Linked DNA regions of Homo sapiens: region 2 is linked to region 1. Evidence: promoter capture Hi-C in 16 types of primary human blood cells and fetal thymus (Javierre and others, 2016). All regions are on one chromosome and are shown on one strand. Each heading gives the region's core, a stretch centred on a gene start or on the middle of the fragment in contact. The rest is flanking DNA. Distances are from core to core; before and after follow the strand shown. Region 1 holds the start of DTX3 (deltex E3 ubiquitin ligase 3). Region 2 holds the start of AGAP2-AS1 (AGAP2 antisense RNA 1).

Region 1 (5,036 bases), core at 993-3,492:
TGGTCATTTCAAGAGGATGGAGGCCTCAAGTGTGGGAACTTCCCCTACTCCCTGGATGTGTGTACCTAGCACACTTCCTTCTCCCACCCCTTTTTCCAGTTGGATTTGTTTTTCTGTTCTCTTCTGTCCTGTCTTATACTGCAACTGTGTCTCCTAGGGGACAGATGGCCTTCTTTGTCATCTTCACTCTCCACCCCCAGAGAGGAGTCAGAGCCATAACTCAATCACTCAGCCCCTCCAAAGATAGTTGATGTGTGATAATCTCATAATGTTGAGAACCCTGATGAGATACATTGTCTTCCTCTCCCTACAATGCCTCTGGGGCCAAGGCACCCATTCTTCTTGCTATCCTCCATCCCCCTTGAGGCTTCCACTTTTTTTTTTTTTAGACATAAAGCTGGGCATCAGCAACTGGCCTGTGGTGATGCAAAGCTGCTTTGCTCTGTATCTGGCTGGACTGATCTGTCTCACAAGAAGCCATGAGGCCATAGGGAGAAGCTCCCTCTCCCCTTCATCTTCTGCTCCAAAGGTGGTAGCAAGAGGAGTACCCAGTTAGGGGTTGGAGCCCCCATATAACATCTTCCTGTCAGAAGACTGATGGATCTTTTTCATTCCAACCATCTCCCTTTCCCCCGATGAATGCAATAAAACTCTGTGACACCAGCAACCATTGCTCTTTAGAAATGGGTTTTCTGATCATATGGCTGATGTGTTATGGGCAGTATGGATGTCTTCATTTGTTGCTTCTGTTTTTCATCTTTTTTGTTTTATTAATAAAAATTTATGTATTTGCTCCTGTTACTATAATAATACAGGGAATAAATTATTCAATCCAAATTTCTGTACAGAAATGCCTTTTTTTTTTTTTTTTTAAATTTCACTTCTCTCAGGGAGCCTGTGTTTAAGGGTGCAGAGACCAGCTGAAGAATTCTGGTGTTCAAGGTGTTGGGCCCCTAACTAAGGATGTGGGTTTCTAGACAGATGGCTGTGAACTTTTTTAAAAAGGCTGTGAAGGGTGTGCACGGGAATGGAAAACTTAGTCTTTAACCTTGTGGGAGGTCAGCGGTAGTGAGGGCCAGGGAAGAGTAGGGTGATGGGACCCTTCCTCTTCCCAGAGTTCTGGGCTTGCTAACACTCCATCTTTGTAAAGGTGAGTAGGCCTCTCAGCCCACCAGCTAAAAGAAAAGGAATCTAGTATTCCCCCAGGCTTCCTGGGAAAGCTGTCCTCTTCCTGGAGGGAAGGAAGAGTACAGCAGGGTCCTGGGAAAGTGAAGAAAGTGACTAGCCCTCCAGTCTAGAGGGGGGAGTGAAAAAGGGGTGGATGAATAGAGGTTGTTGCCAGTTTGGGAGATTCCTGCCTGTCTTGGCTGAGGAAGTCTTTTGGCTGGTGGAAAAACCTGGCTTGATGTGGCCCCAGGGAAGTGAGTTGGATTGGGCGGAGACTGCTTGATGTGGGAAGCAGAGCAGAGCTTTTTTTTTTTCTTCTTTGAGAGTTTTTAACTCTATTTGAACCATACACTTGACACCACCACCACCTCGAGCCACTTTTTAAAAAATGTATTCGCTTCCCATTCTGCACCAGCCTCCATATCCCTGTTTGTGGAAAGAAAAATCAGAGGCACTGACCAATGATCATCTGAGAGCAGGTTGTGGGGGTCATAGGAGGTAACAATCTAGAAAGAGGCAGGAGATGAGGGAGGGGATTGAAATAGTTTAGTACCCGGATTTGTTTATTTTTTAGAGCCAATGCTTTTCTTTTTACTATGACTCTTCCCATCCCACATTGTTCCTCAAAGGCCCTTCTACCATAAGGATTCAAAAAATTGCCGCCCTCCCCCCGAATCCCCATATACCCACCAACACTTCACCCACCCATCCACCACCAGCTCCTGGGAGCTGCTACGCAGCTGGCTGGGAAAGAAAAGGGAGAGTGCTCCGCCGGGAGCGGGGAGCGAGTAGGGTGGCGTCTCCAGGGATTTAACCTCCTACCCTCAGTTCCATGACGCCACCCCCTCCCTCCAAAGACTGGGACAGCGCCTCCATTTTTGTTTTGGGGAGGAAGGGCAGGGGCTTGCGGATAGAAGGGGGTCAAAGGAACGGTGATTATCACCTGTGAGGGGAAAGGGGGTGCTGTCCTCCCTCCTTCCCTTTTCCTCAGCCTGCACCCCCTGCAATCCCCCACCTTTCGGGGTCTCCCCCTCCTTGTTGCTAAGGCCCGGACCGTCATCCCAGCAACAGCCTCAGTCATGTGACCGGCAATGGCGGCGCTGACGAGAGGTAGGTGAGCCCGGCGCCCCCCACACCCACCGCGCGCCCCCCGGGCCCCGCTCGCACCCCTCACGCGCCCCCCGCTCCCCCGGCGCCCCCTCCTCCACCTCCCCTCCCCGCGCGCGGCTCCGGGCTCCCCGCTCCGTGCCCGGCCGATCATCTTTCTAGCACCCTCCAGCCTTGGCCTCCATTCGGGGGTTCTGAGGGCTGCGATCGGGCCGACATGCACCCCCACCCGGCGGTGGGGATCCGGGGGCTTTGGCTACTGAGGGATGTGGGGAGTTGGTTCCGGGTCGGGTCTTGGAGGAGGCCGTGGGGGGAGGGCGGGAGCTGCTTCAGTGGATGCCCCCAGGGACCCTTGCCCATCCGGGCTGTGCCTCCCTCTGGCCTCTGTCTGGAGGGAGAGACTGGTTCCTTGTCCGGCCTGGGTTGCCACAGAGGAATCACAGACCCACCCTAAACTGGGGCCCCGCCTCCCTTTTCTGTGCCAGCAGGACTTGGACCTAGGACACCTAGGTCCTGGGTCCCCCGTGATGGGGAGAGAAGTGTTGCATCGCGGATAGACTGTATGGGCTGAGACTCTAGGGTTCCATTTTCACTTATGAATCTCGAGGTGCATCTGGCCTTGGGGGACGATGATGGAGGCATGAAGGGACAGCTGCTCCTTCTTGGATCAGTCAATAAATGGAGGTCACACTAATGGCCCTTCTTTCTGTTTGAGCTGCATTTGGAAGTGTTGTGGAGACAGCCCCGTAGCCCAATGCGACCAGACTCAGGGAAAACATCAGGCCCCTCCAGCTGAGCCCTTGTGTGAGCCCCGCCCCTCCCTAAATGCCAGACTTGGGAGCTGACAGACAGCACTGCCTGTGCTGGGTTTAAAAGGTGACAATGAGAACTTTGTTATTGCAGGGGCTGCTGCCACTTTGTTCACATCCTTAACAGACTTCAGCAGAAGGGACTGAGTTAGCTCTCAAGGAAGGCTCCCTGGCAATAGGGGCTGAATTATTTGGCAATGTGGAGCAGGCGAGGAGTTGGGGAGCATAGGAAATATTCCGGTCCATGTGATCTGAGGGAGGTGGCAAGAAGACCTCCACCTGTGTGGGCGTTTTCTTTCCTGACTTCTCTTATGTGTGCCCTAGGCTTTCTTGGGGGCCTCAGAGCTGGGGAAGAAAGGAGGAAGGTTAGCATGTTGAAGTTCCTTCTTGAGCAACTTGGGGAGAAGCTGATAATGGAATTCTGCAGAGAAGAGAGGAGATGGAAGGGGAGTTTTTATTTCTGGGTTGGCTGAGGGGAATGGTAACATTTGCCATCATAACTTTTTACCCTTCCCCCACTCCCAGTCCTGGTCAGCTGAGTGGAAATAGAAGGATTTCTGCTGCCATCATCTTCCATGGGCTTTCCAGGTATCTCCCCCGCAAGGGATCCTCAATTTTCACCCTTAAACTGGTTTCCTTCATTCCATGTTCCAAGTAATGCCATTCTTAGTAACCTATACCCAGGTTTCTGTCTCTGTTCCATGGGCTGCTGGGTTGGGGGCCATGGGAATTGGGAGAAGGGGTTTCTCACTTTCCTTCCATTTTTCCGCCCTACCAGGTCACACGACCTACAAGTAGGGAGCAGGGAAAGAAGAGTGAGCCTGCATGCCAATTCTAAGCTCTTCAGGATCAAAGTAAGCAAAAAGGAGGGGCAAAGAGTCTCCCTCCCCTTTAAACAGCCCATTTTTCCCCAAGAGGTGGGAGGGGCAAGTTGTTTCTATGATCTGGGAGAAATGACAGGAGAAACAAGACTGATACTTGGCTTAGATGATAATATAGCTCTGGAAACTTTTTTGCTCTTCAGTGGGTTTTGGGTTTGGAAGATAAGGGGAGACAGAATATGAATTTGGGTGAAGGGTTGGGGATTAGGCTTTGAGAAAACAGAGGTAATAGAGGGTTTGGAAGGAACCTGAAGTAGGAGGCACTGATACTTGTCAAATGGGGACCCCCCACCCTGAGTCCCTTTCACCCTGGGGGCAGTGTCGTTCGTCCTGTCCAGAATGGCAGCCTGTGGAGGCACCTGCAAGAACAAAGTGACTGTGTCCAAGCCCGTGTGGGACTTCCTGAGCAAAGAGACCCCAGCCCGGCTGGCCCGGCTTCGGGAGGAGCACCGTGTGTCCATCCTCATAGATGGCGAGACTTCTGACATCTATGTTCTCCAGCTTTCCCCACAGGGTCCTCCCCCGGCCCCTCCAAATGGGCTCTACCTAGCCCGGAAGGCTCTCAAGGGGCTGCTAAAAGAGGCAGAGAAAGAGCTGAAGAAAGCTCAGAGGCAGGGGGAGCTGATGGGCTGCCTGGCTCTGGGGGGTGGAGGGGAGCACCCTGAGATGCACCGCGCAGGCCCACCCCCTCTCCGAGCAGCCCCACTTCTGCCCCCAGGAGCTCGGGGGCTCCCCCCTCCTCCTCCCCCCCTGCCCCCACCTCTTCCTCCTCGCCTTCGGGAGGAGGCAGAAGAGCAGGAGAGCACCTGCCCCATCTGTCTGGGGGAGATCCAGAATGCCAAGACATTGGAGAAGTGCCGGCATTCATTCTGCGAGGGCTGCATCACCCGGGCTCTGCAGGTGAAAAAGGCCTGCCCCATGTGCGGCCGCTTCTATGGGCAGCTGGTGGGCAACCAGCCCCAGAATGGGCGGATGCTGGTCTCTAAGGACGCCACCCTCCTACTGCCCAGCTATGAGAAGTACGGCACCATTGTCATCCAGTACGTCTTCCCGCCCGGTGTCCAGGGGGTAA
Region 2 (5,036 bases), core at 1,147-3,646, 120 kb after region 1:
TGCTCTTTGAAGGCAATTTCATTCTCTCCAGGGTCCTTATTTCCTTCCCATATTCTCTCACACTCCCAAACTTCTGAAGAAGGGAGCAAACTTTGGCCACGAGGAAGGAGTGGAGCTGAAATAAGAGAGTCCAGGGTCTTGGAGGTGAAGGGGGAACGGCCAGGTCCTCTAGTCCAATCTTCTTTGCTACCTCCCCCCTCTTGTCGCTTTGCCCAGACCACACACCTGCCTCTGTACTTGTCACTGCACCTGCACTGTTGAATCCACCTTTCCTGGGTCACGCCGCTGTGCTGGGTGGTCACAGCCTAGGACCCTGTAGAGCCGCAGCCTCCATGTGAACTGGATTCAGGTCTGGTGCTGTGTCCTCAGTTCAGTGGCACACTTGCAGCTGAACCTCTTGGGGCTGGTGGGCACCAAGGGTCAGAAGCAATTCTACCCAAAGATGCTGGTGCTACCAACTAACTCCTCAAGGTAGATAACAACATATGGCTGTGCCCAACCTGCACTGGCTGCTGACCCAACCCTACCCTGTCCAGCCCCTCTACCTGAGTAAACACTTTCAGCTGCCCTCGAGAAATGGTAGGATTGGCTATGTGCTGAGCCTAGTGGCACTGCAGCTCATGGAGGCAGCACCGGCTTCAGGCCGCTGTGGCCTTGGTGGTCCCTTTGATGGCACGGAGGTGGATAAATGCCTGCATCAGCTGACACTGAGTTTGTGGACACCAGGGACCTCTGCAGCTAGCTGGGAAATCTTTCCCAGGAGGTCTCCCACCCCTTCCCTCTGGAACACCCCCTGACGAGGCCAGGGGAGGAACCCCTACTCTATGTTCTACTCTGGTACCTAGTGCTCACGGTGAGCAGGCTGGCTCGGGGCAGCCCTCCTCAGAGCTGGAGCGCCTTTCAGGTGCCCTCTGAACAGATACTGTTCAGAATACAGATAAACAGATGCCACCAAGGTCCCCTAGCTGTGCAGTGGAGGGGCAGGTTTCAAAATCAGATCTGTCTCCAAAGTTCCTGCTCTTAAACAAAGCTGTCCCATCTTCCCACCCCTCTCCATGGGCCTGTCCTCTCCTCTAAGTACCATATCCCAACTCTCCCAGGACTGGCATCATCTTAAGAGTCAGTGCCTTCTCTGTTCCCAGGGTCCCCACTGACTCCAACCTGCCCACGTCCTCCACTACATGAACCCAGAACTGTTGTACATGATGGAACCACCTCCATGCCCATGGGTACTGTCCTGCCACCAGCCCCAGTGGGAGGCACCTCTGCCTGTCCCTGTCCAACCCCAGTACCCCATCTTGACCAAGGCCATGCCCTGACCTGCCTCCAAGAACAGACCAGCAGCTCACCCCCTAGACAAAATCACTTCCTCTTTAATTGCTGTTGAAGAAGATTCACACCACTGCCTCCAAGGAGATGGGGGGGCATTTCCCCCTTGCCCCCACCTCTCTCCCCTCCCCAATTACCTGGTCCTTTGCAAACTATTTTAGCCAGAAAAAAAAAAAAAAAAAAAGACCGGAAACCACTGACACAGACAGCCCAAGGGCTGGGTTGGCTGAGGGAGGCAGGGCTGGGCCAGGTAAGTCCGCCCTATCACCCAGTTTGTGGGGAAGGGGCAGGGGGCCTGGAAACCCTCCCAGCCACCTCGAATCCTCTCAGCCCTGGCTGGGAGAGGTCACGGGGGTGAGGAATGGCTCTGGAGCTGCTCCAGTGGGAGGGAGGGGCTGGACAGAAAGAATAATGGGGGAGGGGTCCCACTGTAGGGGTGCCCCCTACCCCAGATCACCACGGGCGCTGCACAGTCACAGGTACGCAGTCACGGTCACAGACACAACCCGAGAGCACCCCCACCCCAACCCACCCCCTGCCCACCCTGGGCTTCCCCTACCCCAAAACGCCCTCCCCACGCCCCTGCCCGCCCCCATCCCCATGTTGGGGAACAAAGCAATAAATTACAAGGCCCCCGCAGCCCTCTTAGCCCGCTCCTGCTCCATCCCTTCTCCCTCCCAAGATAGTAGTGGGAGGGACCCAGGCTCTTGGTTCCCCCCGGACTCTTTAGCTTCCACCCATGGGTAGGTGTAGGGGACGTCCTGGTTTCCACTACTCACGGTCCCTTTCACGGAAAGGGTTGGGAACCCCCACCCCCATGAGCAGCAGGGGTCCTGCCCCTCGCTGCCCTTGCCCCCTTCACTGGGCAGTGAGATGAGCATGGAAGGGGTAGGGTTTCCGTATTGGCCCCAAGTCCCGGGGCTAGCCCTCCCATGTACTAAACCCTCCCTCTGGCGTGGCGTCGCCCCAGGAGCCAGCCTGGGTATGGGCTCCCGCCCTGGGATTGTTGAGCTCGGGCAGGACCGGGTCTTCTTTCCGCCCCTAGGGGGCACAAGCGGGCATGTCCAAGCGCCTAGGAGCCCGTACCGCTGGGGACCTCCCCTTCCGCGAACCCCGAGCGGGTAGACCCAGAGCAATCCGAGTGTGGAAACAATGGAGAGGGGGCGTGTTGAGCTGGGGTCTCCATGCCTCGTTGGGGAGAGGGAGGTGAGTTTGTGTCTTCTGGAAGGCGTGGGGGCTGTGCCCTCGTGGGGGTAGGAAGTGCTCCCGTGGGGCGGGGTGCGGATCGGAGAGGTGAGTGGGTGCGTCTGTCCAGCGGTCCGCCCGGTGTGGTCGTGCCCGGCCCGCGTGGGGATGGGGGTGTCTCTCCCGCTGGGCAACTATACCAGCGCAACCGGGGCGTCGGCGCGGCCCACGCTAGCGGCGCTGCTCCGGCGGCGGGGGCTGGGCGTGGCGGTGATGCTGGGCGTGGTGGCCGCGCTGGGCGTGGTGGCCGCGCTGCCGCCCTCACCCGGGCAGCCGTGCTGGAGAAGGATGTCGGCGCACAGCTGGCTTCCAGCCTGGCGGGCGTAGAACAGCGCCGTGCGGCCCTGGGCGTCACGGGCCGCCACGTCCGCGCCGTACTAGAGGGCGGAAACGGCCGCGTGACCGCGCGTCCCCAGGGCGCCCACACCCGGCGCCGCCTCCCCCACATGGCCAAGCCTACTTCCGGGGTCCCTCTGGGAATTTCGGGCTTTCCCGCGCCAGGCGTTTTCCGAGATGAAGCCTCAAAGACCCCCTTTCCTCCCCCCAGCTCACGTACCCACAGCAGCAGTTGCGTGATGACGACGTGGGCGAGCTCGGCCGCCAGGTGGAGTGGGGAGCGCAGCTGTGGGTCCTCTACGCTGGTGTCGAGCGGCCCGTGTCGCGCATGGGCCAAAAGCAGGAGAACGGTAGCCACGTCCTGGGCCTGCACGGCGGCCCACAGCTGGCGGCCCAGCGGCTCCTCCGAGGTGCTCAGCGGCGCCAGGAACAGTAGCTGCTCGTACTTGGCGCGAATCCACGACTCGCGCTCCTCCCTGCAAGACCAGGGATCAACGGAAAAGGCTCTAGGGACCCCCAGCCAGGACTTCTGCCCCTACCCACGGGACCGTCTCAGGTTCGCACACCCTCAGCAACCCTCCCCCCGCTCTGTTCCCTCACGCTTACCGCGAAGAGTCCCGCGAGGGCTTGGCACGGCCTCGCGTGTCGCTTTCCCACACGCGGTTGGCCGTGTCGTTGCCAATAGCCGTCAGCACCAGGGTCAGCTCCCGTGGCCAGTCGTCCAAGTCCAGCGAGCGAACGCGGGACAGGTGTGTGCCCAGGTTGCGGTGGATGCCAGAACACTCGATGCAGATGAGGGCGCCCAGGTTCAAGCTGGCCCACGTGGGGTCTGCGGAAGGAGCGTAGAGGTCGGCTCCCAGCCGGGCAGCACAGGCACCCCGGCATTCACTACACTCCCTAGCCCCTCCGCTGCCTCCTGGCACTCACTGGGGGCCCCGCAGTCCACGCAGATTGAATTCCCCTTGGCGTTCCGGATCGCCTGGATGGCCACGGCCTCGCTTTGGCTGTCTGTGCGCAGCTGCAGAGAGGGTTTGGGTTGGCACTGACTCTGCCTCCAAGCCCCACCTCCTTCTCAGACACCTCTGCTCTCCTCTCACACGACTTCGGCCGTGTCGTTGCCAATGGCCGTCAGCACCAGGGTCAGTTCCTGCGGCCAGTCCTCCACTCCACCTCAAACTCTTACCTTGACCTTGCTGCTCTCACAGCATTGCAGACTGGCTAGGATCTGACTCTCGATGGCCTGGACCCAGGCATCCCGCTCCTCAAAACTGGCTGCCTCAAAGTGCCACGTCTGACCCGTGCTGGACACGATCAGGAACTCAAAGTTTTCCTCTGAGTGGGGGATGGGATGGGGTCATTAAGGGACAGAGTTCAAGCAGGGGCTGCCTTTCCCAAGACCGTCCTCCCTGATGTCCATCCCGAGCCCCTGGGAGTGGGGCAGTGGGGGTAGGGAAAGCAGAGGGTGGGGGGCAGCAGGAAGCCCGAGCACATGCAGGGGAAGGCGGGGGCACCCCCACCCTTCTGCACCCCAGCTGAGCGCCCCTCCCGGCTCCCCACTTGTTACCTGCTTTATAAATATTTCTTAAACTACCAAAGGATTTTAGTTTCCACATTTTGCGCTTGGCTGGTTTCCCGAAGCGAAGGAGATAGAGATAGAATGGAGAGCAGAACAGAGAAAGAGAGACCAAGAAAGAAGGAGAAAAAGACAGGTAGATGGAGAGATGGAGAGAGATAGTGACAGAGTGCCAGAGACAAAGCAGGACAGACAGATGGGGAGAGAAAGCAGAACTAAAGTCAGTGGCCCCGGAGCAGAGTGGAACAGAAGCCAAGAGCCATGAGAGTAGGCAGATCTGGAACCTGGGTCTGAGCACCCGGCAGAGAGCAGGGGCAGCAGGGATGGGTTATCAAGACCAGCGAGGAGCTGGACCTCTGGGAGAAGAAGGGAGGGTCAGGATCTGAGTGAACACGGGGGAAGGGGACAGAAGCTGGGGCGCAGGGCTGAGATGAGAGGGCCCTGGGGCTGGTGGCGGTGGGGGTGCGGGGAATCACTGAGGGACAAGAATGGGGATCACTATGGTCAAGGGCTGTTGGGGAGCACTTGGCAATAGAAAGTTATCGGGAGAAGG

What was found. Contacts are between HindIII fragments. The CHiCAGO score rates a contact against its expected background, and 5 or more counts as called.
Region 2: a contact is called between the fragment with the promoter of AGAP2-AS1 here and the fragment with the promoter of DTX3 in region 1, in 1 of 17 cell types (M1 macrophages). The highest score is 6.0, in M1 macrophages.

The regions. Positions count from the first base shown.
Region 1 is chr12:57,602,582-57,607,617 of GRCh38, forward strand. DTX3 (deltex E3 ubiquitin ligase 3) reads left to right here and starts at 2,243. Exons shown (of 7, transcript NM_178502.4): 1 at 2,243-2,277; 2 at 2,990-3,150; 3 at 3,609-3,671; 4 at 3,862-3,937; 5 at 4,284-5,032. The coding sequence starts at 3,937. It overlaps PIP4K2C (phosphatidylinositol-5-phosphate 4-kinase type 2 gamma), which reads left to right. Exons shown (of 10, transcript NM_024779.5): 10 at 1-837. RefSeq lists enhancers at 1,613-2,124, 2,125-2,637. The HindIII fragment of the contact is 28,357 bases long and covers 1-5,036 here.
Region 2 is chr12:57,723,844-57,728,879 of GRCh38, forward strand. AGAP2-AS1 (AGAP2 antisense RNA 1) reads left to right here and starts at 2,397. Exons shown (of 2, transcript NR_027032.1): 1 at 2,397-2,535; 2 at 3,122-4,513. It overlaps AGAP2 (ArfGAP with GTPase domain, ankyrin repeat and PH domain 2), which reads right to left. Exons shown (of 19, transcript NM_001122772.3): 14 at 4,475-4,534; 15 at 4,094-4,242; 16 at 3,838-3,928; 17 at 3,517-3,739; 18 at 3,131-3,386; 19 at 1,354-2,951. The coding sequence ends at 2,709. RefSeq lists enhancers at 2,979-3,614, 3,615-4,248. The HindIII fragment of the contact is 18,142 bases long and covers 1-5,036 here.